4 separate regions of the Homo sapiens genome follow, and regions 1, 2 and 3 are each linked to region 4. The links are contacts of gene promoters, found by promoter capture Hi-C in blood cells and fetal thymus (Javierre and others, 2016). All regions are on one chromosome and are shown on one strand. Each heading gives the region's core, a stretch centred on a gene start or on the middle of the fragment in contact. The rest is flanking DNA. Distances are from core to core; before and after follow the strand shown. Region 1 has its middle 4.3 kb from the start of LINC01281. Region 2 overlaps LINC01283 (long intergenic non-protein coding RNA 1283). Region 3 has its middle 55 kb from the start of LINC01283. Region 4 holds the start of MID1IP1-AS1 (MID1IP1 antisense RNA 1).

Region 1 (3,315 bases), core at 645-3,144, 530 kb before region 4:
GTCCTCAAATTTTCAGAAATGTAAAGAAAGAATTAAAAAATGGGATCAGAGACTGTGAAAAAATAAAGGTGATAATAAAAGTGCTTTGGAGGTATGGAGTGCTTCATAGTTTCTAAAACAACATCAGTTCTCAAGACATACAATAGATACTTCAACTTGTCTCAATGCTGCAGAGCACTGTGGGACTATTGGAGCTTTGATATGAGTACTGTATGTTTATGAATGCAATCTAGGGTAGCATTAGCTTTTGGGGGCATTTCATTCCAAATAACTTAATTGCCACAAGGTTCCTATGGGATTGATAAGTCAAGTATTGTTATTTATTATTATTCCCATTTCAATAATAAAGAAATATTCAAGGTCACAAAACTAAGAAGCGGCAATATTGGGAATTAAATGCAAAACATCTGACTCCAAGCTCAGTGCTCTTTCCACCACGGTATCATCCAATTATCTATTCAGTTATCCATCCATCCATCCATCCATCCATCCATCCATCCATCCATCCATCTACTCTTCCTTCCTTCTGCTTACTTATTCATCCATCTATCTGTTCATCTATTCAACAAACACTAATTAGACTACTTTTATGTGATAATGCTTCAGGTTCTGGATATAAAAAATGTAACTTTAGTATTTAGACCTCCACAGGCTTTGAGGGCAAATGAGGTGCTATGGTTTGGTTATTTGACCTTCTAAAACTTATGTTGAAATGTGATCCCCAATGTTGGAGGTGGGACCTGGTGAGAGGTGTTTGGGTCACAGGGACAGATCCCTCATGGTAATGAGTGAGTTCTTGTTCTAGTTCCTGTGAGAGCTGATTGTTAAAAAAAAAAAAAAAAAAAAAAAAAAAAAAGCCTGATTCCTCCTCCTCCTCTCTCTCTCTCTTGCCTCCTCTCTCACAATTGATCTGCACACACCAGCTCCCCTTTGCCTTCTGCCATTAGTGGAAGCTTCCTGAAGCCCTCACCAGAAACACATGCTGGTGCCATGTTTCTTGTACAGCATGAATAACTGTGAGCCAAATAAACTTATTTTCTTTATACATTGCCCAGCCTCGGGTATTCCTTTTATAGCAGTACTATTGGACAAGACATAAGTCATACTAGAATTTATATCTGTGTTAGGGTTCTCTAGAGAACCAGAATCAATGGGATGTGTGTGGGTGTGGGTGGGTGTGTGTTGGCGGGGGGAGAGAGGGAGACAGAGATACAGAGACAGAGATAGAGAGAGATTTATTTTAAGGCATTAGCTCACACAATTATGGAAGCTGGAAAGTCCAAAATCTGCAGGATAGGTTAGCAGAGGCTGAAGGCCCAGGAAAAAGCTAGTGTTCTGACAGAATTCCCTCTTGGTCAGAGAAGGTCAGATTTTTGCTCTATTCAAACCATCAGCTGATTGGATAAGGCCCACCCATATGAGGGAGGGTCATCTGCTTTATTCAAAGCCCACCCATTCAAATGTTAATCTCATCCAAAAACACCCTCACAGAAGCAACCAGAATAATGTTTGACCAAATATCTGGGCACTGTGATCCAGCCAAGTTGACACATACAATTAACCATCATAGTATTTAAGTTGCAACAGCATGTTGTTTCTACCGAAAAGGCTACAGGATGATAAAGTTTCCTCCAGGTTTTTCTGAGACTGCTCAGAGAAAGCTTTGACTGTGAGAAGAAGTCCACTCAGGTTTTGTAACTTTGGCATCTTAGAGGAGAACCACAACCAGTCAACCATTCAGGAGATGACTCTTCTTCATGGACCCTGCTCCAACGCTGCTGAGAAGATGTGGTTCCCCTGGGGACTATGGTCATACTCACAGTTCCACCACACATCAGTTCTTTCCGGCAGTGCCAACCCTGAAGTGCTAGAGTGCCAAAGTTGCATTGAGATCTAGAGTGAAAAGATATGGGGAAAGAATGACTTCCTCTCCAAACTTGGGTGGCTTTTTATCCCTTGGGTCCTGGAAAGTTCCACTTGTCTCTGTCTCACATGCTTTTATAATGAAATCAGCCTTTTCCATGTTGACCTTTACCCAAATGGTCTAACTGATTGCACTTTAAATATATAACCACAAACCTCGAAATAGCATTCTAACCACATGGCAAGCCTTCTTAGGAAGCTTGTTAAATTTGCCCTCTGATAAACCTACTTCACACTTTCTTCTCTTTCTTCAAACGTACATTTCCCCAACTCCTTACTCAAAAGCTTATGCTCTCATGTCATTCTTTGTTAACAAAGTGGAAATAATGACATGAAGCCTCCATATTTTCAACACTAACCCAACAAATTTACATGCTCTGATTTCCAAGTTACCAAGTTACCAAATCCAATGGACACTCTCCTTATCCCTCATTGTGCTGGTTCTCGCAGAAGCAATTGACACAGTTGGCCCTCCCTGCTTCTTCTTCTCTTTTAAATTTAAAATTTTTTTGAGACAGGGTCTTGCTCTGTCACCCAAGCTGGGGTATGGTGGCACAATCACAGGTCACAGCAGCCAGCTCAATCTCCTGGGTTCCAGCAATCCTCCCACCTCAGTCTCCCAAGTAGCGGGGACTACTGGTGCAAATCACCACACCTGGCTAATTAATTTTGTTTTTGTTTTTTGTAAAGACAGGGTCTCACTGTTTCCCAGGCTGGTATTGAACTCTTGGCCTCAAGCGATCTTCCTGCCTCAGCCTCCCAAGTAGCTTGGATTACAGGCACCAGCCACCATGCCTGGCCCTCCCTGCTTCTTAAAATACTTCCATACCTCATTTTTCATGACACAAATTTTGCTCTTTGTCTTCTACTCAACTTCTACAAAGATAACTCCAAGGTTTAGTCTCACAGTCATCTTTTCTTTATCTATACCTACACTCCTAGGTGATCGCATACAGTCTCATGACTTTGAATACTGAAGCATCTATATTCCAGATTTACATTTCCAGCACAGACCCCTCCAAGCTTATAGATAACCTGCTTAGTTTTGTTCATTTGGGTCCTCCAAAAAACAGACTGGATTACAAGTGCAAGAGATTTATTGGAGGAAAATCCTGTCAAGTAAAACAGCAGGTAGGGAGCTAGAGCAGGTGGAGCCTCCAGAGAGCAATGCAGGTCTGACACCTGTGGAAGGAGAGTGAAGGAAGGGGACTTGGGTAGAAAAAGTCTTGGACTGTAGCAGAATTCCAGAAAATGTCCAGCCAGGCTGATGAAGAGTCCTTGAGCCAAGGTTGCCTGTCAGAGGAGTCCCCATGTCCTGCAGGAGTGGACCTGCTTTAGTATCCCTGGTGTCTTCAGTCACTGCCTGGGAGCAGCCTGTGGCAAATGTGGCCT
Region 2 (3,335 bases), core at 747-3,246, 630 kb before region 4:
CAATTGCTCTTGGAGAAAAATGATGGCTCATAGAAAAAAAGAACGGTTTAACTAGAAAGAAAGGGTGTCTCCTGGAAGAATACCACACTTTGGCACTGGAGTAGGAGCAATTTATAGGCAGCCACATCTTAAACTTTTCAAAGCAGCCCCTCTTCTGTTCTGTGAATCTGATGTTAAGCATGTTCCCTAAGAGGCTTTCCAATGCGTCCTACTCATGGAAGCTCCATGAGGGAAGGGATATCTTGGTCTCTTTTGTTCACTGATAAATTCCTATAACCTGCCACATAGTGGTGCTCTGTTATGTGTTTGCGAATGAATGAAGGAAGGAAGGAATAGATGAAACATCTCTTCAGGAACCTGGCTCCTGTCTCAAGTGAGACACACGTAGTGCCTCCCCTCTCCTTGTGGCCTGCCTGGGATTGAGCTGAAAAATGATTTTCATACACGTTGCCCTTATTATAACATCATCCCTCAGAGCGAAGCTCTCTGACCACCCTGAAGACCTGTATTTAATGTGATGAAAGGTGATTTAATGGAGTTGAGGAGAGCGAAGCATAAAGTGGACAGCCATTTCAGAAAAGCAAAGCAGTCTGTCCCTCCAAGGGGAAAGGGAAAAAAAAGGAAAAAAGAGGAAAAAATTCAACACCCTCCCCCAGAAGAGAGTGGAATAAGAAGACGTTTTGGTCAGCTCCATAGGAAGGCAAAAATGAAAGCCAGATAAGCCCAGAGGCCTCCCCTCCCTGGCAGCAGATAACTAACTTACCATTTATTTACCTTGGAGCTGATTATGTACTGGGTTGAGGCAGGCAGGGAGATTTTATTGACATTTGGTCTCCCTTCACACATTTTTGCGACAGCCAGACATCAGGGACTGAGCTGCAGGATATTAAAGGATTTGGAAAAGTTATCAAGGAATGGGACATATTTATCAAAGCCACAGTGATATTAGAAAGCTGGGCTGCTGCTACACCTGGGTCTGTTACTTGATTAAAAAAATAATAATGATTCATCCTCTGGCTGGCTTTTGCACCTGGGTGAATGCTGAGCAGTTCTGTAGGACCACCCTTGGCCAGGGATTTGCACATAAAGACCCTCTTTGGGCCTGGCAAAGATTGTAGGTGATAGATCACACTAGTGGCTGGGGGGTTTGTGCCTGCACCCATGCATGTGCACGTGTGATAAAGTCTTGTGTTTGTCAGGAAGCTTCTATTGGTGTGTTACCAGACCTCCCTGGGCCAGGCCAGTTTACATGATGGTCTTCAAATATGCCTGTGTACTCGGAGTATCTTTTATTTCTAAAAGATAACTAGTAAGAGTTTGTTGAGTGACCGAAGGATTGGTGCAAAAGGGGCCTCATGAAGGATCCCTAACCTGCCTCAACCACTGCATTTCTGGTGAATAGCAATTATGTAATACAAGGAATCTCCATCTTTTAACACCAGCAAGTAAGAATATCTCACAAGTCACCTCTACTTAGCTCTCCCCCCAATTTTTCCACATGAATTATTCAGCGTATGACTGTTTCAATATGTCTGTCTTTGAAAAAAGTGCTGGATGAACTTAAAGCAGCAAGAGGAAGTGCCTGCTTTGCAAAAACGATACCCACCTGCATATTTATCTTAAAAGGAAAGCCTTTAATGCATTCACTCAGGTGAAAATATCATGGATAGCAAGGACTGACCAATGGCCATCAGGATCCATGGGGTTAATCCGGGTTTTGCCATCTGATTCCAATCCATCAGGCCTGGCTATAAATTGCTTATATGTCTGGGTGATAAAAAGCAAATACAAATTTTCAAAAAGTTTAACCTTGCATGGTATATAAAGAGAATACATAATATTCTCAAGCATAAATATGTCTCAAGACAAACTCATTGCATATACCCAGAATACATAATGGAGCTTACTGAGACATATTTTCCCCCTAGCAAGAAAAAGCCAGAAATTCTGCAGTAAACTGTGTAGTTTCTGCAACTCAGAAATGGGACCTATGCCTCTAACTCTTGATATCCTTCTAAAATGGCACGAAGTCCAGCTGAGGGAGAGGATGAAATCTGGCTGAAGCTGGAGGATGGGAGACCTGGGACTCCAGCTGGCTTCTTGGGGAGCTTGGCTAAAATCATTTCACGTGATTGATTTCCAATTTCTGCATCTGGAAATAGAGGAGGCTGATCCAGAAACTGACGGTTTCTAAGGCGGTGCTTCTCAAAATCTACTGGACAGGCAAATCCCCTGGGAATCTTGACAAAATGCAGATTCTGATTGGGTAGGTCTGGGACGGGGCTTGGAATATGGAATTCTCCTTTTCTTTTCTTTTTTTCTTTCTTTCTTTCTTTCTTTTTTTTTTTTTTTGAGACGGAGTCTTGCTCTGTCACCCAGGCTGGAGTGCCCTGGCACCATCTCAGCTCGGCTCACTGCAACCTCCGTTTCCTGGATTCAAGCGATTCTCCTGCCTCAGCCTCCCTAGTAGCTGGGATTACAGGTGCACTCCACCATGCCCAGCTAATTTTTGTATTTTTAGCAGAGATGGGGTTTTGCCATGTTGGCCATGCTGGCCTCGAACTTCTGACCTCAGGTGATCCGCCTGCCTTGGCCTCCCAAAGTGCTGGGATTACAGGTGTGAGCGGAATTCTCCATTTCTAGTATGCTGCCTGGTGATGCCGATGCTTGCTGGTCTGATCTGAGAACCACACCTTGGGTAACAGGGTTCTAGCGTTCTCCCCAGATCAGATGGACTCAGGCAGTGACTCTCACCCTTGGCTTCACATTGCAATCGCCTGGGAAGCTTTAAAAAAATGTCATTGCCCAGACCACATCTCAGGCTGATTAAATCGGAATAATCTTTGGGGATGTGACCCAGGCAAAAATATGTTTTAAAGCTCCCCAGGTGGTTCCAAGGTGTGGCCAAGGTTTAGTAGAACTGGTTGAAGGTACCACATGGCTGCACAGACTTTGATGGAGCCAGCTGTCTTGAGGTTTGTGGTATTATCACCCGTACTTGTGATAATCCAATAAATGGAGCAGATACTATTTACTGACATGGTAGTCTACACTGTGCAATGGTGTCATAGAATCATGGCCTCCTCCCTAAACAGGTGAGGATGCTAACTGAGCCTGTTTGTCCAGGAGACCAAGGCTGATGGGTTCCATGAACTTCTACAGGTAATGGGATGACAAAGTGAAACATTTTTTCTTTGTAATGCTTCTTACCAAAGGCCAGATTAGAGGTTGCCAATGCAGATGCATACAAGGGCTGGGTGGGCAGCAGAAACCATAAATCAGAGCTAAATGTTTGCATATTTAAATATACAAGTGTATCCTCTGAGAATTTCACT
Region 3 (3,229 bases), core at 537-3,036, 690 kb before region 4:
TTTATGGCAACTGATAGCTGGCCTCACTGGAAGTGAGTTATAGGGAGCACTGGGGTTGTGGAAAGCTAAGTGGGGATGTCCAGACCCAAAAGGGAGCCATCCGCTTCTCGGCTTTAGTAGGTGAGGACAGATTTTCTAATTTTGAAGAAGAAATGGACAAAATGTTTAGTATAAAATCTTTCTATTTTTAAACATTGGCTACCAATTTGCATTTTTTTAAACCGTGCTGGAGAGGCCAGACACAGACTGTGGGACCCTTGGTTTGTACCTGCTCCCCTAGATCTTTAGTGGGAATAGTGCCCTTAGATGTGAGATTGTTGACTTTTTCCAAGAGTGACACCTTCAAGACAGTCATGGTCCAGATGGCAGGGCTGTACCAAGGGGCTGGAGGGTTGAGGTGGGCTTGGGGGTGGAGATGGTGGCCCTTTGAGAACTAAAGGGGGAAGAAGATTTGTGGTTTTGGTTCCAGTCATTCCAGTTCTGTGGGGCTACGCCCATGAGGCAAAGCTGCCTGTTCCCCTTGTCTAATGCACTGAAATCCAGATCAGTCAAGAGGCCCCAAGGCCCAGCCAGAATCCACTGGAGCTAGGGATGGGTGGGGCAGGCAGCCAAGCAGGCTGAATTAGTTTCCTGGGGCTGCTGTAACAAAATATCACAAACTGGATGGCTTAGAACCACAGAGATTGATGCTCTCCCAAATCGGGAGACCAGAAATTCAAAATCCAAGTGCCAGCAGGGCCATCCTCTCTCTGAAGACTCTAGGGGAGGATCCTTCCTTAACTCTTCCAGCTTCTGGTGGTTGCTGGCAACCCATGGCACTCCTTGGCTTACAGACGCATCACTCCAATCTGAGATTCCATCTTCACATGGTGATCTTCCCTCTATGTGTGTCTGTGTCCAAACTTCTCTCTTCTTATAAGGACACCCGTCATTGGATTTAGGGTCCACTTCATCTTAACTTGATTGCATCTACAAAGACCCTATTGCAGGAGGACAGGTCCCCAGGTGGCCTTGGCTGACCTAACTCCCCTCCACCCAGCAGCTTATAGTTCTCAGAATAATTGGAGAATATGCCAAGAATGCAATGTCTTCTGATAAGAAAGAACTGTCTGGAACAGCCTGGGCTCTGTCCTCAGTCCTTCTAGAACAGGCTCTCCTGTAATGCTTATTCTCAGCAATTCCAGTGATGTTCAGGTATAAAATCCAGGACCGAGTGTTTTTAGGGCCCCTCAGCTGCAACGTGACATGGGGCACATGCAGAAGAGACTCCATCCACCCTGAGCAGCTTTCCTGAGCCTTGGGGGACTGGCTTACTGTGGGTCCTAGGCTTCTCTTTTTTATTTCTGCCTATTACTCTGTGAGTAATAAACCTGCTTTGCTCGACTTATGTGAGTGTTCTGTCTCACTGGACTTACGCCAGTGGGAAAGGACCTTTGCACCCATTTCCAAACAAGACCACATTTTGAGGTTCTGGGTGAATATGGATTTGGGAGGGGGACATTATTCAACCCAGCACATCAGCCATCTTGAATTCCTGCCTCCTTCATCAGGTGAGTATTCAGGATGGCTGGGCCACAGTGCCATCAGGCCATGCTGAGGCCCACTTCCATGTCTCAGTCAGGTGTGTGCCACTGGTGGCCTGGAAGGACAGGCAGAAGCCCAAGGCCCTTTAGGGGTTGACAGAGCTGTGGGCAGCCCCAGTCTGTCAGAAGAGGGCTGAGGTTGGAGGCTGGCTATGGCTCACATGGGAAAGCTGATGATGGAGGGAAGTGGGCATTCCCTGCCCCGGCACTGAGCAGGAACGTCATCACTGGCCCTGCAGCTCCTGTGGCTTGAGTCCCACCTGCAGGTCCTTGCTGGCTTAAGAGCTCTGTCCTGGCAAAATAAGAACAACTGCTACATGGCAAGAGCCCCCGCAGAACTCTGGTGGCTTGCAAATGAATCTCTGAGAAGAGGAGTGGGGAACAAGAAGATATCTTGCATGCTGAAGCTCTGATTGTTCTATGGCAACTTCCCAGACGCTGAGAGAGCCTGTGTCTTGGATGTCCCCTCCTTCCCCACCTAGCTTTGAGCCTGCTTGCATATCCTGGCCTTCCACATTTTAAACCTTTAGGGGAACACTTTTCTGCCCTCTGACACTTATATTCTCCCTAATGATGACTTTGTGGACTCCCTTTGCTTATGTGCCCCTGTGCTGGCCCAAATTGGAGGATCTCTGGTCCCCATAGGCAGAAGGAGCTATGCCTATTTAGGAAAGGTGGCAGAGAGCCCGAGGGGCACATCCACTTCCTTTGGAAGTTCAGAGTCCCTGGAGCGGAGGTTGTGGGATTCCTGAGTTGGAGAGGACATTAACTGTCACCAAATCAACTTCCTTAGAGCTTTGAGTCCCTTCTCTGTGGCTGCTCCTCAGGGTTATCCCATGCTTGAAAAAATGCAGAAACAGGGCACTTGCTACCCCCAAGGCAGCCCAATTCATTTTTAGACAACTCTAATCTTTATCAAATTCGTCCTGATGCTGAGTCAGAATCTGCCTCCCTGGGCACTTCACCCCTTAATCCTGGTTTATCCACTGGGGCCTGGAGCGCAAGTATAATTCATCAAATCATCAGCTATCAGAGCTGGAGGCCACCAAGGCCAACCCCTCATCTTAAGTTCCCTTTCTTGCTCCAGATGCCACTTCCAGATGTACCAGCCTTGGCCAGAATTGTCTGTAGTTTGTATTTGTCTGCCTCTTCCCTGGATTTTAAGAGTATTTTATTTTTGTTTCCTTGGCAGACTTGGGTACCCGTTCTGAAAAACCAGGTTGGCCTTCTCAACCTAGGAAGGAAAGGAGGGTGGCAAAGGTGCCCTGCACAGGTATGACAAATGAAAGACTGGTGGCTATACTCACAAGCCCAAAGACTGGGGTGGGCAGGAGGCAGGCAGGCCTGTCTCCCCACCAACCTGAGGTCTGCATGGGACTGAAGGCTGCAGGCAGCTGTTCTCTCTGCCTGCCACCCCCATCCTCAATATAAAAGCACACCCATCATAGTATTTATAGAACTAGTAAATAAAGAATAAAATAGCAAGTGAAAGTAGGTTTTGATTGCCTACGTGTTGGTAAAACCCAGCTGGAATAATTTGATTCATGCATGGAAAAATGCCTCCGAAGCAGGGCCTTTTTTTAGTGTGCCGAAACTGAATCCCTCCAGCCGCAGATAGAAATTTCTGCTCCTATAGTTTGGCTCTA
Region 4 (2,915 bases), core at 194-2,693:
GGATGTCCTTGGACTTCCAGGCACTGCCCTCCTCGCTCCCAGCCGGTGGAGGCGGCTGGTGCAGGACCCCCCACTCGATGTCGTTGCGGATGGACTTGAGAAGCACGTAGTGGCTGTACATGTCCCGAGAGGGCGCGAAAAAGCTGCCATTGGCGCTTCCCGAGTCGGGGACTGGGGGCGTGCGCTCCTCCAGGCAGCCGCCACTGCCGCCTACCTCCACGCCAACATCGTTGTCTAACCCGGGGTCAGCCAGGGGCACGTCGCGCAGCAAGCTGGGCACCATCACCGTCTGGTCCATGTTGTTCACGGCGCCAATGAAGCGATTCATGGCGTTAAAGAGCGAGTGCTTCTGGTTGTAGGTGTCGCAGATTTGCATCATGGTGGCCGCGCGGACGTTGGAGCGCAGGGACGCAGGGGCACGGGGATGGTCGGCCGGGTCAAGGGGATGCCCGCCTTCACGCGCTCTCCAAGGCCCGCGCTGGGGGCCTGGCTATAGCCGGTGTGGCGGGATTCCCGGCACTCCTCCGCCCTCGCCAACTCTCGTCTCGCTGGCAGACCGGCCCTGCGGGATGGGCGGCTTCTCCTGGCTTTGGCGCCCGGAAACTCGCGATGGCTGAGGGTGCTCTGTGGGTCGAGCCCTGGCCTGTTTGATACACGGAGACGAAAGAACAGATTAGATTATTCACCCTGCTAGGGGGCCTGGCGCCCTTGCCCGCGCGCACCCCCTTCTCTGGCTACAGCTCGTCCGGGACGGCGCCTGGGTGGCTCCCCGCGGCTGGGCAGTCCCACCTCCTCGCCCACCTACGGCCGCGGGGAGAAGGGTGTCCCCCCACCACCACAACTTCTCCCTCCGAAAAGCCTGAGCTCAAGCAACCAAGCTGGCCGGGGCAGCGATGGGGCGTGGGCACCCACCTCCTCTTGCGCCTTGAGACTCTCCTGCTCGTTGGCAATTCAGTGTTCTCGCTGCAAGCGGCTGCTACGCAAGGGCGCTGCTGCGGTCAGTGGCTGGACTGTGACTGCGGACGGCGGTGACTGCGTTGGCCCCCTACCCATCCCAGGTGCTCAATTTATAGTCCAGGAAAGGTGTCGCCGGCGCTCAGGGCCACCCCTGGTGTCTCCTCCTCCCGCCTCCCCCGGCAGCACCGAGATAAAAGGCCCAGGCCGGGATGACCGCGAGTAACACTCGCCCGGCCCTTTCTACAGCGGGGGCGGGGCGCGCCGGGCCAGCTCCGCCTCTCGCCTGATACCCGGGCTGAGGGAGGGCGCCGGGGCAGGCCAGGGCAGGGCAGGGCAGAGCAGAGGAGGAGGGATTGGAGCAGCTGGACCCCGCCAGCACCAAGCCCTGGGCAGGCCAGATGAGGAGGGCCGGGCACAGCGAGGGTCAAAAAGGCGTCGGCGTCCGGACCGACTGGAGGGTGGGGCTGGCATGTGGGGGCTGGGCGGGCCTTGCGCGCGCTCCCCGCGTGGGATGACCAGAATGCACGTGCCTTGGTTGCAGAGTGAGCCCCTCAGCCCCGAATCTGGAGTGGCCGCGGCCGGGAAACAGGAACCCGGGTTTATTATTAGCCGTCGGGGAAGAGGGGCCGGCAGCAGGTACAACTCCATCCTGGGACTCTTACGTAATAAAGGGTGACCGGGCATGCTGGGTGCACGTGGACGCGCGGTGCTCCCGCAGTGGCCCTGGCCTTGGTCAGCTATGGGGGGAGGGGAGCGTCAGAGGCTTTTGCCTCCCTCCTGGCGGGGTGGGATCTTTCCCAATCTTTCCTTTAACAGTGGTTGCCGGGGATGAAGAGGGGCACACTATCAGATCTGCTGATTCTTTGAAGAGATCTGCAAGTGGCAATGGGGAGAAGTCCATTTTTGTCCAAGTCGGCTACACAGTGATGCTGGAGAGCCTGGGCCATGTGGCCTTTTGGCTGCCAAGAGGCCAGGAGAGGGTGACAGTAGTTAGGTCTAGTCTTGGGTGTCTTTCACCATTTAACAGAGAAATGGGGAGGTGTCTAATTATTTTTGAGGGTGCTTGTGTGAAGTGTTCCTTTCAAAAGATAGTTCTTAAAGCACTGGGTCATTTAATAGGGCCTAAGCTATGTACCGAATCGCTGGATTTAACTTTTAAGAGCCTTGCACCTTGAATTTCACTTTGAGACTTCCAAACCACAGCCTATTTAATTTTTCCCATCTCATGTCCCTTGCCATATTCCTCATCCACCAGTCCTCTCTGGCAGTCCTACAATTATGTTCAATAAGATTCAAGCTTCTCATTTTAAATCCCTTTTCTCGGCCTGAAACGGTGGCTCACGCCTGTAATCCCAGCACTTTGGGAGGCCGAGGCGGGCGGATCACAAAGTCAGGGGTTCCAGACTAGCCTGGCCAACATGGTGAAACCCGGTCTCTACTAAAAATACAAAAATTAGCCGGGCGTGGTGGCCAGCGCCTGTAATCCCAGCTACTCGGGAGGATGAAGCAGGAGAATTGCTTGAACCCAGGAGGCGGAGTTGCAGTGAGCCGAGATCGTGCCACTGCACTCCAGCCTGGGCGACAGAGCAAGACTCTGTCTCAAATAAAAAAAAAAAAGATCCCTTTTCTCTAAAACTTAACAGAGGTCTCTGTCCCTAGTACAGTTTTTTCCCACGGGACAAAAAATGCCTAAGGAAGGGAGAACATAATAAAGGGGTTTCTTTCTCTCCCTCTTTCTTTCACATTAAGACCTACACTTAAATATTTTCCATAGAAAACCATCTTCCTAATTGTCTTTTGAATGAAATTCTGACTTGGTGCCACAAGGACTAATCTGTTGACAAAAAACAAACAAAACAAAACAAAGTCAGTGACCCTTGGAGACAGACCTAAGTCTGAGGACCCACTACCCCAAAACGTATTAGCTCTACATCACAGCCCATGTTTTCTTACTTGCA

What was found. The method cuts DNA at HindIII sites, captures the fragments that hold promoters and counts their contacts. A CHiCAGO score of 5 or more calls a contact.
Region 1: a contact is called between a fragment that was not itself captured here and the fragment with the promoter of MID1IP1-AS1 in region 4, in 2 of 17 cell types (non-activated CD4 T cells and activated CD4 T cells). The highest score is 7.1, in non-activated CD4 T cells.
Region 2: a contact is called between a fragment that was not itself captured here and the fragment with the promoter of MID1IP1-AS1 in region 4, in 1 of 17 cell types (M1 macrophages). The highest score is 5.0, in M1 macrophages.
Region 3: a fragment that was not itself captured here is called in contact with the fragment with the promoter of MID1IP1-AS1 in region 4 in 1 of 17 cell types (non-activated CD4 T cells); the score reaches 5.4 in non-activated CD4 T cells.

What each region holds. Positions count from the first base shown.
Region 1 is chrX:39,330,031-39,333,345 of GRCh38, reverse strand. No RefSeq gene overlaps it. Among named protein-coding and RNA genes, the nearest start is that of LINC01281, 4.3 kb to the right of the region's middle. The HindIII fragment of the contact is 461 bases long and covers 1,664-2,124 here.
Region 2 is chrX:39,429,543-39,432,877 of GRCh38, reverse strand. The region is part of intron 1 of LINC01283 (long intergenic non-protein coding RNA 1283); the gene reads left to right. Among named protein-coding and RNA genes, the nearest start is that of LINC01283, 3.6 kb to the left of the region's middle. The HindIII fragment of the contact is 1,582 bases long and covers 1,206-2,787 here.
Region 3 is chrX:39,487,988-39,491,216 of GRCh38, reverse strand. No RefSeq gene overlaps it. Among named protein-coding and RNA genes, the nearest start is that of LINC01283, 55 kb to the right of the region's middle. The HindIII fragment of the contact is 4,259 bases long and covers 1-3,229 here.
Region 4 is chrX:38,802,411-38,805,325 of GRCh38, reverse strand. It overlaps MID1IP1-AS1 (MID1IP1 antisense RNA 1), which reads left to right and starts at 1,443. Exons shown (of 2, transcript NR_046706.1): 1 at 1,443-1,593. MID1IP1 (MID1 interacting protein 1) reads right to left here. Exons shown (of 3, transcript NM_021242.6): 2 at 913-2,791; 3 at 1-643. The coding sequence starts at 379. RefSeq lists a silencer at 1,111-1,330 and enhancers at 1,133-1,974, 1,975-2,816. The HindIII fragment of the contact is 2,492 bases long and covers 1-2,256 here.